2 separate regions of the Homo sapiens genome follow, and region 2 is linked to region 1. The links are contacts of gene promoters, found by promoter capture Hi-C in blood cells and fetal thymus (Javierre and others, 2016). All regions are on one chromosome and are shown on one strand. Each heading gives the region's core, a stretch centred on a gene start or on the middle of the fragment in contact. The rest is flanking DNA. Distances are from core to core; before and after follow the strand shown.

Region 1 (6,009 bases), core at 2,868-5,367:
AGCTACTGGTGGATTTCGAGGGGTAGACAGACATAACGAAATTATCTTATAAAAAGATCCCTCTGGCTGCTGTGTTGAGAACAGATTCTATGGGAGCAGTGTGGAAGAGGGAGATGGCCTGGAGGCTGCCATAATGTCACAGAGGAGAGAAAATGACAGTGTCTCTAGACCAGCCTGGGGGTGGCAGTGGAAGTAGTAAGTACTCAGACTCAACAGGGATTTCCTGATGGATTGGACATGGGGTAGGAGAGAATGATGCCAAGTTTTATCTTACAAAAGGAAAGACTGCGTTGTCCTTTCCTGAGATGGGGAAGCCCACAGGGAGAGCAGCCATAGGAGCTCAGCGGAGACAGTTTGAGGGTAAGGTGCCCTAGACATGCACATGGAGATACCCAGTAAGCAGCTGCACCCATGGGCTTGGAGCTTATGGAGAAGGCGGGGTGGGAGCACAGAGTTGGCAGTTGCCAGTGCTTATATGAACGTAAGGCATGGGCTTGGATGAAATCACTTAGAAGGTGTAGGTAGGGAAGGGAATAGGTCTTCTTATCTCCCTATGCTCCCTACGCTCGCTTCCCGGGCGCTCCAATATTTGTAGGTCTGAGAAGTGAGGGGGAATCAGCAGAGGAGACTAAAAAGAACACCTGAGAAGGTAGAAAGGAAACCAAGAGGCCAGGCGCGGTGGCTCACGCCTGCAATCCCAGCACTTTGGGAGGCCAAGGTGGGCAGATCACCTGAAGTCGGGAGTTTGAGACCAGCCTGACCAACATGGAGAAACCCCGTCTCTACTAAAAATACAGAATTAGCCAGGCGTGATGGTGCATGCCTGGTGATCGCAGCTACTCGGGAGGCTGAGGCAGGAGAATCGCTTGAACTCGGGAGGCAGAGGTTGTGGTGAGCTGAGATTGCGCCATTGCACTCCAGCCCGGGCAACAAGAGTGAAACCCCATCTTTAAAAAAAAAAAAGAACCAAGAATTTGATCATCTATTAACGAACATATATTGAATTCTATACATCATCCCAGAATTTCTGAGACTTCAGATTCTGGGCCACCAGGAATACTAGCTAGATGGCAATGCTGGGAGGAAGGTATTGGTAAGGATTGTTGGTGGACAACAGGCATCTATTCCCTCTTCCTTGTTAACAGAACCCTGACTTTGAGGAGGTGATGTACTAACATAAAAGTCTACATTTCCCAGCTGCTCTTGCAGGTAGGAAAACTAAATTCTGTCCATAAACAAAAGTGTTGTGTGGGACTTCTGCAGTCTGCATAAATAGAGCTAACCAGGCTGGAAGACACACATCTCATGCTCTTCCGCCATTATTCCTTCCTACTGTCTGGGATATAGGTGTCAGAGTTGGAGCCCTAGCAGCCATCTTGGACTATGGGGCAACCTTGCAAATGGGAACCAAGCATTACAGATGAAGGAATAAAAATACAGTAGCCCGTGTTTCTGACAACTGTGGAGTTGCCAACAAAGGATAGCTTAACTTTAGCTTTATTTTGCATAAGCAAGAAACTTCTATCTTGTTTCAGTCACAGTTAATTTTGGGTTTTCTGTCATATGCAGTAAAAACTAATTCTAACGGATATGAGATTTATTCACAGTATTTCAAAACTGTGTAGACAACTTTGATGCAGCCCTAAGAGTTCTGAGATGAATTCATGGTCCCTGCCCTCCCAGAGCTCCCTGCACAGCAGGTGGACTAGCTAAGCAGGCCATTACAACACTGGCTGGTAAGGGCTGCGTTGACGGTAATGCTCCAGGGTCCGCAATAGATGGCAAGGCAAACTTCCGCTCTTCCTCTCATCTTCTTTCAAATCGTACCTAAATTCGATTAACTCCACACGTGTTCTTAGTCTGATTTTGTCCCATTGCTTACACTGTATTTGATTTTAATATATTCTAGTACCTAATTTAAGCCTTGGAGTTGAAGAGAGAAAAAATTATAATGTGGACCAGATTTTACTGGGCGGTTGGCACTTATAATTTTACAGCGAACCTGCATAAAATAATAAGCAACAGTTATAAACTTGCCAAGAATCAATTTTGCATGTGGAGCTTCATTCAACCAACAATTCTATAAACACTCTAGTGCTAGAAAATCGGCAGGATAAAACTACAAATGTGATCTCTGTCATTTCCTTAATGAAGTAATTACTTTGATGCTAATGTGTTGGAGCTGGTTCCTTCCGGTGGGTTGGTGGTCTCGCTGACTTCAGGAATGAAGCTGCGGACCTTCACGGTGAGTGTTACAGCTCTTAGAGGTGGCGTGAACCCAAAGAGTGAGCAGCAGAAAAATTTACCGTGGAGAGCGAAAGAACAAAGCCCCCACAGCGCCAAAGGGGACCCAAGTGGGTTGCTGCTCCTGGCTGGGGGGCGGCCAGCTTTTATTAGCTTATTTGTCCAGGCCCATGTGCTGCTGATTGGTCCATTTTACAGAGTGCTGATTGGTCCGTTTTACAAACCTCTAGCTAGCCACAGAGTGCTGATTGGTGCATTTCTACAGAGCACTAATTGGTACATTTTACAAACCTCTAGCTAGATACAGAGCGCTGATTGGTGCATTTTACAATCCTCTTGTAAGACAGAAAAGTTCTCCAAGTCCCCACTGGACCCAGAAAGTCCAGCTGGCTTCACCTCTCACTACCTTTTCTCTTCAGAAGGCACCTTAACAGTGCACTTGGCAAGCTTCTTACCTCTGGCCAATATTGTTCATAAATATCAGAACCCTGGTGCCTTAGATGTCTGCAGATCTGGGCCAAATGGAAGCACAAATCTGTACTGAGCACTTACTACATGCCAGGCCTATTCCATATGTTATCTTAATCTTTCCCATACCCCTGCAAGAAAGGTTTTAGAATCCTCTTCACCAGTAAGAACCAGACACCAGAGAGTCTGAGCCATCTGCTTCAGTCCTACCCAGCTCTTGAGGGGCAGGGCGGGGCTTCAAACCCAGAACATCAAGCTGTTTCCCAAAAATGCCTTCCCTGGTGGTATCTTCTCATCATCTCCCAGTCTTTTAACCCTGGCATATCTGTCCTGTCTAAGCAGCTTTCTACCCAGGGGCTCTATTTCCCAGGTTCCACTAGTCACAATCCTATCCCCTCTCCCAAATCTTTGTACACTTTCTTAGACCTTCCTTGCACCTCCCACCTCCACCTCCGTCAGGGTGACCTCTGCTTCCTGGGAATTTCCCCGCCCCAGGCTTGGCTCTTTCGTTCTTATCACTTTCTATGCTTTACCTTTTGTATCCTTAAGCAACCTACTTGAATTATCGATTTTCATTGGGAGGGAGAAAAGAGAGGACATTTATTGCGCACTCATTTGTCTGGGAATTTGTCTCCTTTAATCCCCCAAATAATCCGATGAGGAGTTTTTATCTGCCGCTTTACGGATGAGATTGGACACACACAGTAAGCTGAAGTAGTAGTCAGGAGGGAAAAGGACGAAGAATCACAAACCGTTCTCCCCCTCCAAGATGAGTGCATGGTGTGGGCGTCCAGGAAACGTTCCTGGAAGAAATTATTGGATGGATGGATGAATGAATGAATGAACGAACATTTAAAGGCTGGCTTACGAAAGGAGTTTAGTGAGAAATGACACAGAGAGGAGAGCTGAAATACTCCAAAAAATACAGATTTCAAGTACAGGTGGGGTTTGGAGGCTGCAGAAAGTCCCAAACATTCAAACAAGCCCAGAGTGAAAGACAGGGTTTCATTAACACTCGGGCAACTACTAGTGTGGCTCTGAAGAGTCTAAAGAGATCTACAACACTTGTGACCCGAACACAAAAGAGGCATATGCAATCTACAGTGCTCCCTCTGGAAAGCTCTAGAACACCGTCGCGTTTTGTTCCCAAACTTGGGCGGCGGGGTTGGGCAGGCGCCTGTCTCTTTAAGAATCTGGTCGAAGTCCTTTTCCTCGCCCCGCCCCGCCCCCGGTCCCCCCCCCTCCCCGCCCCCGGCCCCCCACCCCCCGGTGCCGGCGCGGCCTGGGGCCCACCCCCTTCTTTTCTGCGGCTGCACTGAAGGGTTCGGCTGCCCATCCGTCACAGAGGCGATGCCTCTGATTGGCTGCTGCTCTTCGGGCCGGGAGGCGGGGCGGGAAGGCCGGAGAAACTAGTTTGTTGGCGGCGCCTAGGCTGTATCGCAGCGAGAGCGTTTTTGCCTGTGGAGAGCCGGCCGACGGGAGCCGCGGCGGAGCCTGTTGAGCTCGCGCGGGCTGCCGGGAGTGGTCTCTGAGGCGGCGGCGGCGGCGGGGATCGTCTCCGGCAGTGAGTATCCAGGCCGGGCGGGGACGCCGTGCTCTGGCCGCAGCACCCGCGCCCCCGCTCCCTGCGCTGGGGACTCACCACCCCGGGCCGGGCCGGGACCAAGCGCTCGGAGCCCCCGCGGGACTACGTGTCCCGGGAGGGGGCCCCGCGGCTGGGGCCGGGGCCCTGGGACAATGGTGGGGAGCGGCGGCCGGCCGGCACCCCGCGGCTCCGCGAGGGAATTCGCCGAGAGCTCTGCGCGAGGGAATGAATTGTTTGGCAAATGGATGTTGCGCGCGGGAGCCGCTACTCTTTCCCCAGGGAGTGGTTGATTCATTGAGTCCGCAGACTCTTTTTTTTAAAAAATTACTATTGATCCTGGAAAGAGAGACTGCTTGTCTTTGAGGACGCGAGCGGCGATGCCCCGCGCCTTGGACGCCCAGGCCGGATGGCTGCCTGCCTGGCGCAGAGCGAGGGCCCGGGGTTCACAAGGGGAGGGTTTGCGCGGGCCTGGCCGCGGAGCCCCGAGCCGTTCACGTTCCGCCTGCCAGGGTCCCTCGTTTCGGTTTGCAGAACTGTCCAGCGGCAGAGAAAGGTCGCACTCAAAGGCACACCCACCTGTCCACCTGGGTGGCGGCCAGACTGGCAGGTCCAGAGCAAGCCCTCTAGCCTGACTCTAATTACCACACTTGCCCTGGCTCCGAGACACACCGCGCGATGTTACGCCCCCACTCCCCCTGTCTCTTTCGTAGTTGCTTTAGAAGCTTTTCTCTTGGGGGATTGTGCCCGGGAGATACCAGATACTTTTTTTGTGTTGCTGCTCTAAGCCCCCAAAGTGCATTCCCATTGTCTTTGAACAAAGAAACATCTCTCTAGAGGCCTGACCCAACGAACTGTGGGTGAGGGGGCGGACCCAGGCCCCTGCAGATTTAATCTGGACGCTCTTGGGTCCTGCTGGATCCCGGTGAATTTGACCTTGGGGAAGGCGGGCTGGACTTTGACTCTCCTCGGTAGTCAGGGCAGAGAATGCCAGGTGTCTGGACCATTTGGTTCCACTCTATCGGCCCAATAGAGAGAGGAAGGGAAGGAAGTTAGCAGTAGCACCAGGAGAGGAGGCAGGATTCCACGGTCTGTATCCTGGACCAGATTCCAGTGACCGTTATGGGGCCAAGCCCTCTGGGACCCTGGGTCCCAGTCTCCCCATTCATAGGAGGAACTGATGCTCAGTGTGCTGATCTGAGCTGTGAGGATTCCTGGCATGTTGGTGAAGGCTTGCGTGGGGGTCTGGGGAAGAGTAGGACACAAAGTCTACCCCACCTCAGGGTCCATTTGGTGTCCCAAGACCGGAGGCTCTTGGGTCCACAAGCTGTGCCTGTGAAGGTTGACGTAGTCAGTCTTTTTCCGGCCTGGCAGCTATTTCAGTTTTGAGTCATTTGTCAGGCAGTGACTCCAGGGTGGTTGATAAAAGGGAGGTAGAAATGGAAGACACCTTCATCCTGGGGTCTTGGGCTGCAGTTGGATTTATGTATGTGGTGCGGAGAGAAGAGCTATAGGCAAATTGCATGCTCCACATCGGAAGCAGGTTCTGCAGCCCGATGCCCCTTAATAGCGTTTTAAATCTGCGGGCACCCCGTGTGGGCAGAAGAGAGCAGGAAGAAAAGAGAACAATTACCCAGTGAAAGCAAGCTTGGTTCGTCCCGTCTATCACTTGGGCGGGGGCGGGGGGAAGGGTAGGATGAGTGAGAGTGTTATTT
Region 2 (5,724 bases), core at 476-2,975, 1.2 Mb after region 1:
CATGAACCTGGAAGGCGGAGCTTGCAGTGAGCTGAGATCCCACCACTGCATTCCAGCCTGGGCAACAGAGTGAGACTCCATCTCAAAAAAAAAAATTGGGGGCCTGGTAGTTAAAAATCAACCCCTGACCTAACTGCTTGTGTTATCTATAGATTCCAGACATTGTATGGAAAAGCATTGTGAAAATCCCTGTCCTGTTCTGTTCCATTCCAATTACTGGTGCATGCAGCCCCCAGTCACATACCCCCTGCTTCCTCAATTGATCACGACCCTCTCACACAGACCCCCTTAGAGTTGTAAGCCCTTAAAAGGGACAGTCATTGCTTACTTGGGGAGCTTGGCTTTTGAGATGCAAGTCTGCAGAAGCTCCCAGCTGAATAAAGCTCCTTCCTTTTTTAACCTGGTGTCTGAGGAGTTTTGTCTGCAGCTCATCCTGCTACAATATGTCATGGACCAACCTCAAAAACATTAGCTAAGTAAAAAAGCCAGACACGAGACCACATATTGTATAATTCCATTGATTTGAAATGTCCAAAAAAGGCAAATTTATAGAGAAAGAAATGGGCTGATTTATCTCAAGAGGCAGGGATTCAAGCTTTCTAGACTATATGTGATACATAGATGAGAAAAAATAAGGAAAAGAAAATAAATTTAAATAGAAATAAATGAAAATAATACTTCTCCCTGATTATAAAGAAAATCATATTCTTTTTCTAATAATTTGGAAGACAAAATATGAAGAAAAGTCTTTAATTTTGCCACTCAAAACATTCTGCCTTGTTGCTTTTTATACTTTTTTATGCATATACACATTTTAAAAAGTAGAATCATTATATAGTCTTTTGTCACTATGTTTTAGGCATATTTCTATGGCAGTAAATCTATCCTTAGCATCATCATTTTTAATAGCTCGATGTATATTAACTTAATCATTGCCACCCCAGAAATAAATTTTCTTATATGTATATTTTTAGTGGATTAGAGCAAGCATTTTTGGATTTAATTCATAGAAGTAGAATTTCTGGAGGAAAATAACGTACAACAGTTTTAGGGTTTTTAATATAAATTTTCAAATTATCCTGCAGAAAAATTGGTTCAGTTTATACTCCCACCAACAGGGGCAGAGCTCCAGTTTCCCCCTCCCATTTGTCCTCTTCGCTGGTCTTTAAGCAGAAAATCTGATTGTTTTCATTACATTTATTTGGTTTCTAACGCTTTTGAATCTTTTTTTTTTTTTTTTTTTGAGATGGAGTCTTGCTCTGTCATCCAGGCTGGAGTGCAGTGGTGCAGTCTCAGCTCACTGCAATGTCTGCCTCTTGGGTTCAAGCTATTCTCTTGCCTCAGCCTCCAGAGTAGCTGGGATTACAGGTATCCACCACCACACCTGGCTAATGTTTGTATTTTTAGTAAAGACAGGGTTTCACCATGTTGGCCTGGCTGGTCTCACATTCCTGATCTTAGGTGATCCTCCTGCCTTGGCCTCCCTGAGTTTTGGGATTATAGGCATGAGCCACTGCACCCAGCCACCACAGCTAACTTCTTCTTTTTTTTTTTTGAGATGGAGTCTCACTGTGTTGCCCAGGCTGGAGTGCAGTGGCCCGATCTTGGCTCATTGCAAGCTCTGCCTCCCGGGTTCACGCCATTCTCCTGCCTCAGCCTCCCAAGTAGCTGGGACTACAGGCGCCTGCCACCATGCCCGGCTAATTTTTTTTTGTATTTTCAGTAGAGATGGGGTTTCACTGTGTTAGCCAGGATGGTCTCGATCTCCTGACCTCATGATCCGCCCGCCTCAGCCTTCCAAAGTGCTGGGATTACAGGTGTGAGCCACTGCGCCTGGCCGCAGCTAACTTCTAATGAGGCCACCTTAGACAAGTTACTTACTGTCTCTGAGTGCAGTGGTGCAGTAATGGCTCACTGTAACCTTGATCACCTAGACTCAAGAGATCCTCCCACCTCAGCCTCATGAGTAGCTGGGACTACAAGCCTGCACCACCACACCCAGTTAATTTTTCTAGTTTTTGTAGAGACAGAGTTTTGCTATGTTGCCTAGGCTGGTCTTGAATTCCTGGCCTAAAGCAATCCTCCTGCCTTGGCCTCCCAAAGTGCTGGGATTACAGGCATGAGCCACCATGCCCACATTTTCTTTTCCAAGCTATATAGAGGATGCTGTATGCATCCTTCTGGAACTTGTTTTTTTTCACTTAATATTATATTGCTAAGATTCATCCTTATTGTTGTTTATAGCTGGCATTCATTCTTTTTGTATGTTGTGACATCACCAGAAGATAGAGATCCTGAGATCTCTTAAGAACTGCTGCTGGGAGTATACACTGGTATAACCACTTTGGAAAACAATTTGGCTCCATCTCATAAGGCTGAATATTCATACTCCTCCCAGCTCAGCAATTCTACTCTACATCCAAAAGAAATTCTTGCCTATATAAAACAATATAAAACAGGGGATGTGGACAAGGAATGTTCCTAACAGCTCTGTTCAAAATAGCAAAAACCTATTTCCCATCAGCTGGAGAGTGAGCGACTAAATTGTGCTTTTTATTCCCTTTAATTTCCAGTAGTCTTAGGATGCAAGTGGCTTTCCCATGGCTAGCTTGGGGAGGGGGATACTCTTGGCAATGGAGTCTGGGGTGGCAGTCCTGATTAGCCCTAGGGCAATCAGTGCTGCCCAAAACAAGAGAAAATAGAACAAGGTGCCCCACTGAGCCAATGCCCTGGGTCCCTGGAGGTACAGGTTTGTACCTGGAGGAAATAGCCATCATACAAATCAGTCTTTTCAAATGCTTCTGTCACTGGGCTGAGTCCAAAGGACACCCTTTCCCAAAACATTACAAAGCTTATTGGGGCTACCATTTATTGAGCATTTATCATGTGCCTGATCATGTACTAGTGTAGTAATTGTGTGCATTATTTCATTTATTTATTTATTTACTTACTTATTCATTGATTTGAGATAGGGTCTCTCTCTGTTGCCTGAGCTGGAGTGCAGTGGCGTGATCATGGCTCACTGCAGCCTCAAACTCCTGGGCTCAAATGATCTCACCTCAGCCTCCCGAGTAGCTGGGAATACAGGCATAAACCATCAAGTCCAGCTAATTTTTTAAAAAACATTTTCGGGCCGGGCAGGTGGCTCATGCCTGTAATCCCAGCACTTTGGGAGGCCGAGGCAGGTGGATCACAAGGTGAGGATATCGAGACCATCCTGGCTAACATGGTGAAACCCCGTTTCTACTAAAAATGCAAAAAATTAGCTGGGTGTGGTGGCGGGCGCCTGTAGTCCCAGCTACTCCAGAGGCTGACGCAGGAGAATGGCATGAACCCAGGAGGCAGAGCTTGCAGTGAGCTGAGATCATGCCACTGCACTCCAGCCTGGGCAACAGAGCGAGACTCCATCTCAAAAAGCAAAACAAAAGAAAACAAAAAACATTTTCATAGAAATGAGGTCTGGCTTTGTTGCCCAGGCTAGTCTCAAACTCCTGGCTTCAAGTGATCCTCCCCCTTGAGCCGTATTATTTCATTTAATCTTCACCATCACCTTATAAGAGTGCTTGGGGGTAGGTGCTCCACACAGTAGCAACGTAGCAACCTCCACTCATAGTGACAACGAGACTCAGTGTAGTCAAGCAACTTCTCAAAGTTCACACAGCTGGAGGGTGGCTGAGCCAGGATGAAGACCTAGGACTCTAAAGCTGGTGTGCCAGTAAATGAGAAAAGTCTCTAAGCGTTCAGGATAGCTTCCTCCCAAGAAATCTTTCTCCAAAAGTTCTAAAAACAATGACAGATCCATCTTTTATAAAGCAGACAAAACTAGCAGTCCGTTCCTTTTAGAGTGGGGTGTAAAGGTTAGCTAAGCTCCAGGGCATCCCATTTTAATCCTATATATTTATAAGGCAACTGCCAGCAGAGCACCCCAAACCTAAAGAACCCTGCACAGCTGTCTCTGTGGGGCATGGCGTGTCCATGGATGTAAAGATTTTCCAATGTGTGCTTACGGGCCTGTGGCATCACCCTCAGTCACTGTCAAAGGGTAGCTAGGCCCTGCCCGCTAGGCACCATCCTGAGAATCTGCTGAGCTTTCTAACTAGTTTATCTGTTGTTTGCAGTGAAAGATGCCCTGAAAAGAAGGGGTGTGGGTGGGAAGAGTTCTGATTTGAGGTCCCCTGATCCAGGCATGCTCTTCTTCCCCAGTTGCAGGAATCAGGGGACTCTATCTGTAAATGCGGGCTCAAGCCATGCCCCCCAGCTCCCTCTTTCAACCAGGTGCCACCCTCTGCTTCTCTTCCATAGACAGCCTAGAGCTGCCAGCAGTCCCTTAGGATCTGTGGCCTCAGGCCTGGCTTAATTTTTTCCTCTCCAAAGAGCCATCTGTAGGGCCAGAGGCCGTCAAAGCCTGACTCATTACTGGATGCCAGTTCCTTTGCCTGACCTTCAGTGATTCCTACCTTACCCTGCGGTTTTATGTTTCTTGTCTCAACACTATTATTTCTTATTTCTCCACAAGTTGAATTGCTCACTCCAGCCCCTCGAAGCATGCTCTTTTTGACACAGTTAGCTTTAGGCACATGGTTGGTGCTAAAAAAAAAAAAAAAAAAAAAGAGCATTATGTCGTTTTCATTGATTAACAAACGTGATGGCTTCACTGCAAAGTAAAGTTGATACTGCCTGGACCCCTGAGTTCAAGAGTCTTTTAGACAAATGGCTCTGAGCTAAAACATGAGCATGCAAACATATGCATCTGTTTCGGTCTGATGAGATAATTTGGATACTTGGTTGTTATCCTTGAGCATTTTCCTGCCTCATTAATGCATGTGTAGCCAGCACAATAATAATCATAGCTAATAATGGCTAAAGCTGAGGGCTTTCCTGAGCCAGGCAGTGGCTTTAAAACTTTAAAGTGGCTTTTAAAACTTTAACAGCTAAAGCTGAGGACTTTCCTGAGCCAGAAAGTGGCTTTAAAACTTTAAAGTTTTCACATGGACTCTCATTGAATAATTTCTGTTTTTCAGATCAAGAAACTGAGACTTACTATCACATTTGGGATTAAGTTAAAAAAAAAAAAAGAAACTGAGGCTTAAAGCTGTCAAGCATTTCACAGCCAGCAAGCAGCTAAATCGGAACTTGAACCCAGGCAGTCTAGCCCTGGGATCCTGTGCCCTTCCTTACCCATTATCCAGTGTTGGCTACACAAAACTAATGAGTACATATTTTCAACTATAGTTTAAGTGGGTGACATATTTTTCACTATATTTTATGTAGGTGACTTTCAGTTTGGGGGTATTCTACTTACACAATCTATTGAGCTGGATATTACTGAGAACAAAAAGAAACTAATGAACTCTGAAAAACATAAAACATGAGCAACATGACATCACTGCAAAAGACAAAACAGCACATAGCCTTCTTGTGACTGTATTTTGCTGACAGTCCATGAGCTGATAGCCTGAACTCAGCAGTGCTGTTCCCTTGGGAGACACACACACACACACACACACACACACACACACACACACACGAGTTGGTGGTTTTGTACCTCCCCCCGCCCCTAAATACACACACACCAGTTGGTGGTTGTGCAGCCTGGAGCTTCCAGTCCGCGAGTGTGAGGAACGGACTAGATGGGTCCAGCAGTGCTGGGTCAAAGCCAGGAGGGGGCAGCCGGAAGCGCGCACATGCTCTGGACTCGTGCACCCGCCGAAACGGGTGCGCACC

What was found. The method cuts DNA at HindIII sites, captures the fragments that hold promoters and counts their contacts. A CHiCAGO score of 5 or more calls a contact.
Region 2: a fragment that was not itself captured here is called in contact with the fragment with the promoter of KLHL25 in region 1 in 1 of 17 cell types (total B cells); the score reaches 6.3 in total B cells.

The regions. Positions count from the first base shown.
Region 1 is chr15:85,793,033-85,799,041 of GRCh38, reverse strand. KLHL25 (kelch like family member 25) reads left to right here and starts at 4,117. Exons shown (of 3, transcript NM_022480.4): 1 at 4,117-4,276. RefSeq lists silencers at 3,927-3,996, 4,147-4,446. The HindIII fragment of the contact is 2,328 bases long and covers 2,694-5,021 here.
Region 2 is chr15:84,571,078-84,576,801 of GRCh38, reverse strand. LINC00933 (long intergenic non-protein coding RNA 933) reads right to left here. Exons shown (of 4, transcript NR_038274.1): 2 at 4,458-4,587; 3 at 3,551-3,780. Among named protein-coding and RNA genes, the nearest start is that of LINC00933, 3.3 kb to the right of the region's middle. The HindIII fragment of the contact is 2,256 bases long and covers 598-2,853 here.